2 separate regions of the Homo sapiens genome follow, and region 2 is linked to region 1. The links are contacts of gene promoters, found by promoter capture Hi-C in human tissues and cell types (Jung and others, 2019). All regions are on one chromosome and are shown on one strand. Each heading gives the region's core, a stretch centred on a gene start or on the middle of the fragment in contact. The rest is flanking DNA. Distances are from core to core; before and after follow the strand shown.

Region 1 (7,173 bases), core at 758-3,257:
ACTGCCAGATCATGGAGGGCTGCATATCCCATTGTGACCTTGGTGGAAAGAGTGGGGAGAGGAGGAGCTTGATTAGAAGAAATTCCTGAAGGCCAGGATTCCCCTCACCAAAGGAGTTGAGTGTTTTTGTTAAAAAAAAAAAAAAAAAAAAAAAGCATATAACTTTCTCCAGAGAACACTGGAGGGAGACTGCCTCAGGAGGGGTTGTGACAGTGGATGACAAACGCATCTCAGGCTGGTTAAAGTACATGACAAGTATGGGGGAAAGGGTGCTGGATGAAGATCTGGGCTAGTTTGGGGAGGCTAATGATCAGAGGGGTCCCTGCCAGCCCCTCAAAATGTTGCCTCAGCATACCTCAGACTCCTCAATCTGATTGGTACACCCATGGCAACACTCCAGGGTTGCTAAGAGTGTGGGCCCCAAGGCCTGAAGGATCCCATACACTGGAAGTCAACCACAGGCTCCAATGCAAGGCGAATGCCGCACAGGTTATTGTGGGTGTGTGTTGCGGTGGACGTTTGCTGAACCCTCTGCTGAGATGTGACCAATGTTGAACCCCACCCCCCCGCAAAAAAAAAGTGATATTTGCTCCCTGCTGAAAAGACACATCTTTCTATCTCCAGCCTGAACCCACATCTACAACTTCAACTGCCATTTAAGCGGGTTGGAAGCGGGAGGGCTTTTCGGATTTGAGGATTTAAGAGAAACAACAAAAAAGTGGAATAAAGTTCGTAAAGTCCGTTCACTTGGCAATCTGGCACCTCAAGGTGAGTCGTCCCACAAGTCACTCTTCCTGGTAACAGCTCCAGCTGCCCCTACCCCTCGCCCTCACCCCTACGGGGGAGGCTCGCTTTGGGGGTTCTGGAGCACTCAGGAGAGCTCCTCTCTCCTGTCCTCAGCTGCAACTTGGCTTCCAGCAGATCACAGACTCCTAAAACAAACAAACCCTGGCGGCGGCGGCGGCGGCGGCAGTGGCGGCGGCGGCGGCGGCGGCGGCGGCAGCGGCAGCAGCAACAGCAGTAGCTCCAGCACAGCTGCGCTCCATGGCGCAAGTTTCCTCCACACTTCTCAACGTGCAGGAAATCTCGCCGGCGCTGGGGCAGGACTCTGGAGGGAGGGAGAGGCCGAGCCGAACCGGCGGCAACAACGCCCCAAGAGCTGAATGGATGTGTGCGCGTCCGGCCGTGGGAAGTGTGGCTGGCAAAAGCCACCAATGGCCTCATCTCCGTTCCCACACCAGCCCCTAGCCCTGCAACCTGCCTGGGAGGGACGGCCCGCCGGTCGATAGAGGGGACAACGCTGCCAAGAGAGCTGCCAAGCCGCGATGACTGTCCCTTCAGTCCTTCACTGTCCCGCAGGGACGCAGAGGCCTCCAAGGAGAAATCCCCAACAGCCTCCACTTCCTTCGGCCCAAACTGAGGGAAGTAGCCGCCCCGACGTGGGGCAGCAAGGGCTGCCCCAGCGCCCTCGCGAGTGTGTCTGCGCGCAAGGTTCTAGCCGGGGGCCAGTTGTGCTCCCAGCTCGTGTTCCAGCCACCCTTAGGGGATGTCTGCACCTGGACTGGTGGCAAGACCCCTCCGTGCCGCTCAGAGGGTCTTTCGCTCCCAGCCCTAAGTTTCAAAGTTGGCCTGAGGGCCCCGTCCAGCGGCAGCCTTCGCACCCGCTTGTCCATTCAAAGTTAGGCGCCGTTAGGACATCAGCCGCCAGTTCTTACCTTAGACACTGTGAGCGGCTCACAGTGTTCCAGACCCCCCTTAAGGGTGAAGCCCCAGGGTGCCCCCCCTTGCAGCTGCACAGGGACGTACTGGAAGGACCCAGGCCGGTTCTCCATCCTCGGCTGGGCTCAGGCGCCGCCGGGCTCCTTTTCCGAGGGGGCTACGTTGCCTCCGCCCCCAGCAGCTCCGCCACCATCGCCCTCCAGCTCTACGCCACCCCGCACCGCCCTGCTCCGCCTACTCTCCCGGCTGGAGACGCTCAGGCAGCGAGCGAGCGCAAGGAGGAAATGACACGGAGCTGGAGAAAGGGGGAGAGAGGGGGGAAAAGGAGAAGGGAAAAAAAGAAAAGAAAAGAAAGAAGGAGAGGCGGAGGGATAGCGCGTAATGGACAAGAAAACGGAGCAATGGGGAGGGGCAGTCACTGGGACCTCGCCTATAGGATCGCTGGGGAGTGGGAGCGAGGCGAGGCCTCACATCAATTGTTACATTGTTTCATTCAAGCAGGGCCCCTCTTTGGTCCTCCTCTTTACTGCCGGGTTCCCCGCCCCTCCAGCCAGCCCAGGCGAGGGGAGGTGAAAGTCGTTAGTGTGGACGGCCCGCGTGGCTGAGTGGGCTGAAACGCTGGTTTCCTGATTAGCGCGTTCATGTTTCTCTGACTGCCTTTTTCTTCTGAAGGTCCCGAGAACGGAGACCTGGGAGGGTTAAAAGGCTGCTAATTTGTGGACCTTGCCTAGAGGGGTGGAAAGCAAAGCCAGCAGGCCAGCGGACATAGTGAGGCTGTGTGTGTAGACTGCTCTGTGTGTACGCGCTAGGTGTGTGGGGTCATTATGAAACATTGCCCCAGAGCATAGTTTAAATAAAGAAGCACTTTGAGGATGCCCCCTGCTCGGGCTCCCCCGCACCCTGGCTCAGTGTTGGTGTCTATGGCTAGCACTGTGCTTGTGTATGTTCCAGTCATCTGGAGTTCCTGGCACGGCCTTGCACTTGCCCCACCGAGATGAGCAAGCCAGCAATCAGCAAACTTTATGACTAGCAGTATTGTCTCTAAACAAACCTACAGGAAAGAGCATCCATTGATAAGCTGGCCAATTAATAATGTTGTGCCTTTGGGAAGAATCAGCTTTTAGACTGGGTCCAGAACATCTCTGCACATCTGTTCAAGCTTGACCTTGTAGTTTCTGAGCTGGGCTTTTGTAATAGACCAAACAGCCACAATAATAGTCCTGAAAAGCGAATTTGTTACTGAATCTTGTGCTGATTTCTCTGCCTTCACTTGGACAGGTTATCTTCTCTCTTTGAGGTGTTTTCTCTGGAGCCACATGCGGGCAGTGAATTTTTAAAGGGCCTCGCACTAGCGGAGAAAGTGTTGACAACTCAGTTGTGACTCAACAGGATGTTCCCACTCTGTCTCGCCTGTTCAGTTTCTTCCCCTGTTCTTGTGCAGCTTCTTCTTCATGGCCAACAAACACACTGCGGCCCCTTCCTTCACAGCCAGCTTTCTGCGGTCAAGGTTTCCACTCTCTACTTCTACTTCCTCACCTGTCACTGCCTCTTCAACGCACAGCAGCCTGCGGTGTGCTGCAGCAGGCCACTGAAATGTCTCTCAAAGTCACCCCCCTCCATCAATCCTTTTTTCTTAGCACCCCCCTGGACTGTCTGCATATATGATGCTGCCCTGACTTTTCTTTAATAAAATGGCAATTTAGGTGTTTATAGCCTGCCTTTTTAAAGTCCTTAGAGATGATGCACATGGGAAACCATCCTCGATCTTTTAGGCCTACAAACACCGTCTTGATCATGTTTATTGTTTTATATTTTCCTTATTTGAAAGCAGAAAATTTGATAAAATGGCAACTCAACTTGTTGATTCTTACTTGTGTTAACCTATGTTATAACATTCATTTGCCCTGCCCCACCTTGAAACTCAGCATTTTTTTTCTTTTTCGGATAATATTTCTATGATTGTAACTTGGTAGAATCCAGCGTGTTTCAGTCCCAGCATATCTGTAAAGTTCAGTTCACAGGATATATAGTCATCACTCAAGGACTATTAGAATTATGTGTCTAGACTAGAGGAAAGACGTTTGGAAGCAGTAGACACACATCTGAGCCCTGGCCTTGTCACTAACTAGATGGGTGACCTTGGGCAAATCACTGAGCTAACTCTTTTCAGTCTCCTGTTCTTCCTCTGTAAACTTTAGCTAATAAGCCCTGACTTTCCTACCTCCCAGGACTGTTGAGAGACTAAGATGAAATAATACATATGAAAACACTTTGGTAAGGAAAAAGTAAAAATCCTCTCACAACCTTATTATGAAAGCAAGCACTGAGCTAGTCTTTAACTAACCTATTTTCATTCCAAGCCTTACTCTACAATGATGTCTTGTTGCACTCTTCAGTTTATCCTTTTCATCATTACAGCAGAACATAAATTACCTAGCCCCTTGTACAAACAGTGCATAAGTAGTAGATATTCTGAACATAAGGTGGCTAGATTATCTTGCTTCTTTATTGATAAAAATCAGTGCTGCTAGCAGGCATCTCATTCTTCTTTGGAAGTATACAGTTAGTGGTAGCATGACTGCATAGTGGAAAGGGTACAGGGTAGAACTTGAGATGCCTAGATTCTAAGCTAGTTCTGCCATTAATTCACTGTGGATATTAAGCATGTCACCCCCACTCTCTGTAAGTTGAAGGGGTTGAGCGACTTGATTTCTTAAGTTCCTCTACAGTTTACAAATTCTGTGACTACTTCCTGGCAAGTGCCTGAACGTAGTATATGTGCAAACAAAATCTTGATAGAGTTGAACCAAGTAAAAAGAAAGCAATGGAGAACATTCGAGGGGTATATTACTCTGTGTGTGTGTGTGTGTGTGTGTGTGTGTGTGTGTGTAAAGTGCATGCACACGCTGGAGCTATCAGACAGATGATAAATTCATTCTAAAGTATGTTAAATTGCCTGTGGGGAAAAGGTGGAAAGTCCACTAGGCAGGTAGAAATAGGAAACTGCATATCAAGGAAGGGGTGGTGATTGATAATACACACTTGGATGATAACTGAAGCCATTATTTGCAGTATATAATCTCACTCAGAGAAATTAGAATCTCACCCAGAAAGTAGAATCCTGGATTATGCTAATATTTAAAATATGCTAATATTCAAAAGTCAGGAAGGATAACAAAAGACCCACAAGGGAGTAGACACAGGAGGTGGGCAAAAGGCCAACCAGGGAGAGATAAATTAAAACCAGGCTAGGTACTTCCACCTCATTAAACATTCCTCTCAGGAGTCTTGTATTCATTCAAAAGCTATTGAGAAGTTTACATTTTTGGAAGAAGGAAGACTGAAATAGCAGTCCTTCTCTGAGCTTTTTTTTTTTAAAACTTCCTTAGCTGAACCTTTTTTCTAAACTCAAATTTGAATACAATTTTCCTCATCGCAGTGCCTGTAGCTTTTTTGTTTTTGTTATCATTTTTAAAAATTTTATTTTTCCCTCCCCTGTGGGATCTAATCTAACTCCTTTTTGAATGAGGAACCTCTTGAGATTCTAGAGAAACCTATGCACTCTCTCCCCCTGAAAGCTACACATGTTCACACAATGCTATATATAGTTTGGGCTGAGATTATAGACCCTAGCTTCAGAATCCTTGCTCTAGGCTGGGTGTGGTGACTCACGCCTGTAATCCCAGCACTTTGGGAGGCCTAGGCGGGTGGATGAGGTCAGGAGTTGGAGACCAGCTGGCCAACATGGCGAAAATCCTTCTCCACTGAAAAAAAAACACAAAAATTAGCCGGGCGTGGTGGCACGCGCCTGTACTTCCAGCTACTTGGGGAGGCTGAGGCAGGAGAATCACTTGAACCCGGGAGGTGGAGGTTGCAGTGAGCTGAGATTGCGCCACTGCACTCCAGCCTGGGCAACAGAGTGATACTCTATCTCAAAAACAAAAACAAAAATATCCTTGCTCTAGAAAAAGACAAGATTTGTTCTTTTTGTGTGTGTGGTAAAAGCAAAAAAACAAACAAAAAAAAACACAAACAAAACAAAAAAACCACACGTATCATGAAGTCTACCCTCGTAACAAATTTTTAATTGTACAGAACAGTATTTATAATTTTATGTACATTGTTGTACACCAGATCTCTAGAACTTCTTCATATTGCACGATTGAATCTACCTAAATTGAACAAGAACTCTCGCCTCACACCCAGCCTGTTGGTGACCACCACTCTACTTTCTGCTTCTATGAGTTTGACTACTTTAGATACCTCATATAAGTGAAATCATGTAGCATTTGTCTTCCTGTGACTGCATTATTTCACTTAGCATAATGTCCTCCAGGTTTATGCATGTTATTTCATATGACAGGATTTCCTTCTTTTTTTAAAGGCTGAATAAGATTCAATTTCATATAAAAAATACACATTTTTTCTTTATTCATTCATCTGTCAATGAGCATTTCTTCCAGCTTTATTGAGGTATATTTGAAAAATAAAATTGTATATTTTTAAGATGTACAATATAATGATTTATATTGGCATACATTGTAAAACGATTACCACAATCAGCTAATTAACACATCTATCACGTCACAGCTGCCATTTTTTGCATGTGTGTGGTAAGAAGACATAAGATCTACTGTCTTAGCAGATTTCAAATATAAAACACAGCATTATTAACTATAGTCACTATGCTGCATGTTAGATCCCCAGAACTTATTGATTTTATAAGTGAAGATTTGTACCATTTGACCAACATCTTTCCATTTCCCACACCCCCAGCCATATAAGTGAGATCATGCAGTAATGCAGTATTTGTCTTTCTGTTTTTGGCTTATCTCATTTAGCATAATGTCCTCCCAGTTCATCCATTTTGTCAAAAATGTCAGGATTTCCTTCTTCTTTAAATGAAGGGGTACACACATATATATAGAGTTATGCATCACTTCATGACTGGGATATGTGCTGAGAAATGCATTGTTAGGCAATTTCATTATCGTGTGAGCATCACAGAGTGTACTTACACAAACCTATATGGTATAGTCTACTACACACCTAGGCTATATAGTATAGCCTATTGCTTCTAGGCTGTAAACCTGTACAACATGTTGCTATACTGAATACTGTAGGCAATTGTAACACAATGGCAAGTATTTGTGTATCTAAACATATCTAAACCTAGAAAATGTACAGTAAAAATATAGTATAAAAGATAAAAATGGCACATCTGTAAAGGGCATTTATGAAGGGAGCTTGGAGAACTGAAAGTTGCTCTGGGTGAGTCAGTGAGTGAGTGGTGAGTGAATGTGAAGGCCTAGGACATTCCTGTACACTACTGTGGATTCTATAAATAATGTACACTTGAGCTACACTAAATTTATTTAACATTTTTTCTTTCTTCAATAATAAATTAACCTTAACGTATTGTAACTTTTTTACTTTTAAACTTTTAGATTTTTT
Region 2 (6,666 bases), core at 815-3,314, 43 kb before region 1:
AAGGAAAGAAAGGGAAAAAGAAAAGCATTACAATTAAAGCAAGAATTAACAGCTGTAATAAATATAAAGGTTACTTTTGCATAAAATGAAAATAGAAAAGGTCAGTTCAGGAAATGTTAACACACTGGCTCAGTTTCTCTCAGTTCATAGGCCTGAATCATTAGGCGTCGCAGGCCCAATAGGACCACAGCTTTGTTGCTTGAGCTTTTATGAGGCATATCTGTGCTGGTGGCAGCTAGCAGACTGGCAGGGCTACAAACTGGCATGCCCTCAGGTCATAAACTAATTATGGCACAATCATTCACTTGTTCTAGCCATTCTGCCAATTACTTCATGAGTAGGGTTGGGCGGGACCTTTGTCTAAGGCCTGCTCTGGAAACAAGACCTCCTGGGCTTAAGCCTTCCTTCCTGTGGAGTTCTGTGGGAGTCTGTAGGGCCATCAATAGTCTCAGTAGGCCAACCAGTCTACCCTTCTGCCTTAATAATCCACTCACCAATTATTAAGTGTCTGTGTTGTACAAGGCCCAGTGAGGAAATGCAAAAATAACAACGTACTCTTGAAGGGCTTAGAGTCTAGGGTTAGGGTGGGGAACATAAGAACCATTCAAAACCTCTGCTTAAGCCCACTTGCATATCTCAAGCCCTGGACTTTCCTGAACAGAAGGGCCCTTTTGAATCTAGACACTGCATTAGTCATCTGAGTTCATTCCACATGTTCTCGGGGGGAATAAAAAGAAGATGTTTACTTCCAGAGTCAGTGTAAGCTTCCATCTTTTTCCCAATGATGGTGGATAAGCTTCCCTGTTCTCCAGAGTCATAATTCAATTAAGGTCTTACCAAAGCCTTCCTGTCCAAGAGAAGGGTCAATCACTCTTCCAGCACAGCAACTCCCCTGCCCCAAGGACTACCCCCACTGCACTCAATTGAAGTGCCTGACTAGGTACACTCAGAGGAGATACATCCCTTTATATAAAAGAGCCACAGACTTACAAATAGCCTCGGGGAGCCAGCATGCATTCCAAGAAATACATGTAAACACATGAAAAGGTATGTACACAGGTTTGCTTACAAACAAAGTCAGAAGAAAAGTAAACAGATTGGGAGGGGGAAATTTCACAGCTCAGTGAGCTGAAGACCTGGATAGAAAGGTGAATGAATAAGTCCAACATACTGTGTTTCAAGGCAGCAGCATACATACACAGTCAGCAGTGACAACTGGTTTGCTGGGACAGGAAAGAATGGATTTGCAGAGAGAATTCAGGAAACAGTTTGAGGATCAATAGGCCCCATCAGTATGCCAGTGATTTCATACTAATGCAGTCAAGGTCCCAGAGTAAATTATTTCCATGCTTATTACTGCTTATGGCAAACATCACCCAATTCAGACTTAGAGGTTCAAATAGCCCTAGCTCCCTGACAGACATCATTGAAAACATTCCTGCAAGGAGCACCCTTTGTAAGGTGGAGCCTGGCCAAGTACCAGGCGTCTGCTCCTCTCCATGGTCACATAGTCTCCTGCTGCCTTCCACCCTCATACAGGCCCCCAGTCTGTTTGCATTCCCACACCTGGCCCCACCTTCTAGCAGAGGCCAAGAGCATCATTCTTGGATGAATGCCCAGCCTTTGAAGTCAGAGAGAATGCAGGCTGTTAGATGAGGAGATCCAGATTCAAGACTTCTCAACACACACTTCCCCCTACTCAACAATGCTTACAATAAAGTTACGCTCAAGAGGCACTCTGGCTGCTAGAAAAACAGGAAGCCAGAGGAGTGGGTAGGTCAGTTAGGCTCTCTAGACTGGCCTGAACTCTGTGGAATGTCAGGCTCACTAGAAAGCTGAATGCCTCCACTGAAGGTGTGACCAAGGTATCTTTAAGCTGGAACTGACCAACCACCCCTGTCTTAGTAAAAAGGTATTTCTCCCCAAATCTGCCTTCCCCACCCTCCCTTCACACACAAAGAAAGTAGCCAGGCCTTCAGTCTTGGTTCTCTAGAGCGCAGCAGAACAACTCAGGCAGAAGCAGCTTGGGAGACCTTGTGCTTCTCTATTCGAGTGCTTTCCTAAACTGTGTGGTTGGCAAAAAACAGATCTGAACATTTGGCTGGAAGCAGCCATGTTTAAAAACAATTGTTTAATTTCAAGATTGCAAGAACCTTTCTTCATTTTGGCAGTTTGGGAGAGGGAGTGGAAATGTAGATCCATTAGAATAAACAGTAACCATCCATTTGTGTGTATCTGTTCATCTAGGTGTATTCATGGAAATCTGGGAGAAATTAAGCCTTCTGCCTTCTTCTAGCCCATAAGGTCATTGGTCTGCCACGCCTCCTGCAATAACAGTTGCAATGCAATAACTCATACTTACATAGCACTTGACAGTTTACACAGCATCCTCCCATTCATTATGCCATTTAATAAAGATTAATCCATTATGTGGTGTGACTAATTCCCTTTGACCTAACAATTCTGCTTTTTCTATAAATATCTCTTAGTAAAATAATCAGATAAGTGTGCAAAGGTGTACGTACACAAATGGCCACTGTTGCACTGTTTATATTAGCAAAATGTTAGGAGCAAATTAAATGTCAATTAATATGGTACTGGTGAAAATACCTGTAGTATTTATATAGTCATAAAGTGTAATACAGTGATACCATTAAAGTGATTCTGTAGATCTGAAAAGATTTCTGCAACGTATTGTTAGTTGTAAAAACATAGGCTAGAAAACATTACATATAATATGACCTTGTTTTTTATGTGTGTGTGTGTGTGTGTGTGTGTGTGTGTATAAACATGGAAGAATGAAGTGTGAGATATGCATACACCTAAATATCAATGCCTGTTACCTCTAGGAGGTAGGAATGTGGCTAATTTTAATTTTCTTCTTTAAACTTCTGTGTATTTTCTAAGTTAATATTAAATCAACAAACATTATTGCTTTTGATGATGTGGAAAACAATAAAGCTACGGTCATTTTGGAAAGGAGAGAAAACATGTGGTAACAACAATAATAGTAGCTAACATTTACTGAGCAGTTACTATGTACCTTGGTTTTAAGTACACTTATATTTTGATCTCATAACAGTACTTATGAGGTATGTAATACTGTCCCCATATTAGAGATGAGAAAACACTGAAGCTTAGAGAGTTTAAGGGACTTCCCAAGGACACACAGCTAGAAAGTGACAAAACTAGGATGTAAACTGAGGTTTCTGTTGACTCCAAATCTCATTCTCTTATTTGATGCTCTACCACCTTCCTCTTCTAGGGCCCTTTCTCCCTTGAAGTGCTCAAAACAATGTATCAAAGCCAGTTATTATACTTTTGATTACTTACGCCAGAAAGACCCCATTAAGAGCATAACTGTTTCTAGCTCAGAGCAAGGTTTCAAGGAAGCAGCACTATTAGAGCCTGATGCCAAAACCCAGGTGACCAAAATCAGCAATAGCTCAAATTGAACCTTCATCCCTTAAATCTCACAAATGCAAAGACAGTCTTTGTTTGATTCAAACGTTTTCTTCCTCCATCCATCCATCCATTCCTTCATTGAATACCTATCATATGCTAGGAACTGTGGGCATACAAAGATGAATAAGGCAGACTCCCTGCCTTCAGATAATGTGCAATCTGATCCTTAGTGCATCACAGGCCCATTCACCTGAGAGGCTTACTTGAGAACAAACTCCAAGTTGAAATGTGACCAATGACCAAGGGGCCACAGCAGGAAACTTGGGAAGACAGAAAACAGGTTGCCAAATTCTTCTTTACTACACTTACAAAGAATATGGAAAGTAAACATATAGATCCAATTAACCAAATCTAGCAAACATTATTGAGCAATGACTATGTACCAGGCTCTGTGTTAGGTGCTGTCACATATCTTATGAGTACTACTATTACTACTATTCATACTACCATTACGAAAAATAACAACTAACATTTTATTAAATCCTCACTGGTAGTGACAGAAACCAGGCTAAGTGCTTTACATACAATGTAAGTTTTCACGACCACAAACCTATTAACATGGCTTAAGGTTGAGGCCTACCTAATATGAAATCAAAATGAAACAAATCAACAAACAAAGCATCTAGAATTCTCCACTGTTCCCTTATTCACCATGAGGTCATCTTAGAGCTAGAATGGTTTGAATATTCAGACACCTACATAAATACTTCCCATTTGTTCATTTCTCTAGTTCAGCTCACAGGTTAACAAACTTAGAGAATTACTGTATAGACTTCTATGCACAACAGATACAGTACTGTACTGCAATACAAAAGATTTCCAGGAAGAGTTTCAACGATTCATGATTTTTGTCTTATGTGCTAATTTTAGTACATGACTTAGAGAATACATGAGATAATAATGATGCTATAAATAGCATATGACCAGTAAATTATAAATGATGCCTTAATATACTAATCTCAACAATAATCATATCAGAGAAATACCCATTGTACAGGTAAGGAAACAAGTTCACAGAGGTTTGTCCCCCATTGCTTCAGTGTGAAAAAGCCAAGGTTTAAACTATGTCTGACTGACACTAAAGCCTATGCTTCTTGCACAGCTTTATGAAAGGCACTTTCTTTTTGGCAAATGAATTATGTTTGAGCTAAAAGCAATGACCAGGGTACCATCGGTGAGATAGATCAGAGGAGATGAACATGAAGGCAGATCCAAAGAAGAGTGATGAACAGAAAAATGACATTATCAAACATGGGCTTTGGAAAAATTAACCTGATGATGGTGACACCTTTTCCCTGAGGCAATGTCATCTCTCTTTTGAGGTTGAATACAGGCAAGAAGGGCTAGCCTACAAAATAAGCCACTTTTGCGGTGGAGGTCTCCAAGGTGCTAAGGCATCCACATGAACATCACTTGTCCCCTTGAATTCCCAAACTGAGGACTTTAGGGCTACATTTTTGGAGTTGATAAAGGAAGCTAGGGCCTGGTTCCCTTTCATCAGATGTACAAATGTATTGGTTACAGAGTTCACACTGAAGAAGACACTCCAGCCTTTCTAGGGTCTCAGTATGGTATTAGGCAACAACAACACTCTTGTTGACATGTCCAAAATGTGCTATTTTTCACTTAAACCACCTACATCTAATCTCAGAAAAAAACACCTTGGGACTTGAGAATACATCTCTTGAAAAGCAAAATGCCAAGGACCACGAACAGTTCCCTCTATCCCACTTAAACTAAGCTTGCAGAGGTACTTCTCCCCAAAGGGCATGTTGTCCTGTTCAAGGGAGACTGGGGAGTTTCTCAAATACTTTTGCTTACTTCTCAGGATGGCCAAAAATTAAGGATTATAATCCTCACCCACCAGGTGGCCATTTATATCCAAAAAGATTTGAAGCACCTTACAAAAAAATTCTGATGTCACAGGGTCATAAAATTAAAAGAAAGATTTAGAAAAAAAAAAAAAACAGAAAATGAGGTTATTTTATTTAAAAAGGAAACCTTTTGTTTACATATATGTTCATCGAATGTTCAAATTTGATCTGAGCTTCCCAGCAGCCAAGACACAAAGGCAAACACTATAGGTTTCAGAACCTTAATCTGATAAAAGGAAACAAGCTAATTTATCAGGAGGCAAACTATTTATGAGCACTGGATTCTACATGCAAACTATAAAAGGAAAAAAACTTTAAAAACACAAAAACTGATATTTCTGACATTATTTTGCCAGAATATACTTTTGTCATATAATCATTCCTTAAATTGACACTCATGTCTTGAATTACCCTCCCCATGTGAACAATCCTTTTGTTTTTCCTCACTTGCTTCCCAGTACTCCTGATGAAGGGCCTGTGAGCAAGTGGTGCCAACACCCTCCTGATGCTGCTGCTTTGGATCTGTTCCAAGTTTCTGGATACTTGGTTGGGACCTCCAAAATGCTGAGTTTAGACAGCAGATACCAGTTTGGGCCCAGAATATTTTTAGGGCCATGTTAGTGTCAACTACCTTAACTAGCAGCCTAGCTTCTTAGAAATGGCTGATATTGGGCTCTGGGTAGGACAGTCAATGGTATCTAAAGGGCTCTTTCCACTACAGCTCATATGCCTAATGGATCAGAGGTACAAAAATAATCAGCACCCAGCAAGCGAGGTCAGAGTCAGGCTCAGTTTGGATCAAAGATCATACTCAGGAGCGAAGAATCCTAGGCATGAATACAAAGAGGGAGGTCTGGGGGAAGGGTTAACCAGTAGACAGTCCAGCTTCCAGGAAGAGTACTGGGGTAAGAATTACAGGCTGGAAAGAATGTTTGGCTTCGATATGGAAAGCCCTTAACGCCCACCCAAGTGACCAAGAGGTGGGGCACTCTGAGGCAAGCAAAGAGAAAGAAATGGCATGCTCACAAGGGCAGGTAAGGGGGATGTTGAAGAAACAGAGTCTGGGAAGTAAAATTCTGAATAGCCTGATGAAAAGGACATTTTTACATACTCATGTTATGAGCCCAACATCTGACTTGGGTGACAAGTAAAAGGGGATACTGTTAAGAGCCAAAGTCTCACCCAGGTGTGACATATGAGGGAACTGGTGCTTAACCAAAGCTAGAGAAGCAGTGGAAGGTGTGGTATGGCAAAAGCCAGGAGGAAATTCCAGTAAGAAAAGAATTTGCACTCAACCGTAAGCCAAATACTGGCATCATTTCATTTA

Evidence for each region. Contacts are between HindIII fragments. The study calls those that stand out against the background at their distance.
Region 2: a fragment that was not itself captured here is called in contact with the fragment with the promoter of SHROOM4 in region 1 in 1 of the 25 tissues and cell types used here (hippocampus).

The regions. Positions count from the first base shown.
Region 1 is chrX:50,812,187-50,819,359 of GRCh38, forward strand. SHROOM4 (shroom family member 4) reads right to left here and starts at 2,008. Exons shown (of 9, transcript NM_020717.5): 1 at 1,716-2,008. The coding sequence starts at 1,832. RefSeq lists an enhancer at 1,055-1,556. The HindIII fragment of the contact is 10,300 bases long and covers 1-7,173 here.
Region 2 is chrX:50,769,256-50,775,921 of GRCh38, forward strand. All of the region lies in intron 1 of SHROOM4 (shroom family member 4), which reads right to left. Among named protein-coding and RNA genes, the nearest start is that of SHROOM4, 42 kb to the right of the region's middle. The HindIII fragment of the contact is 4,213 bases long and covers 1-4,171 here.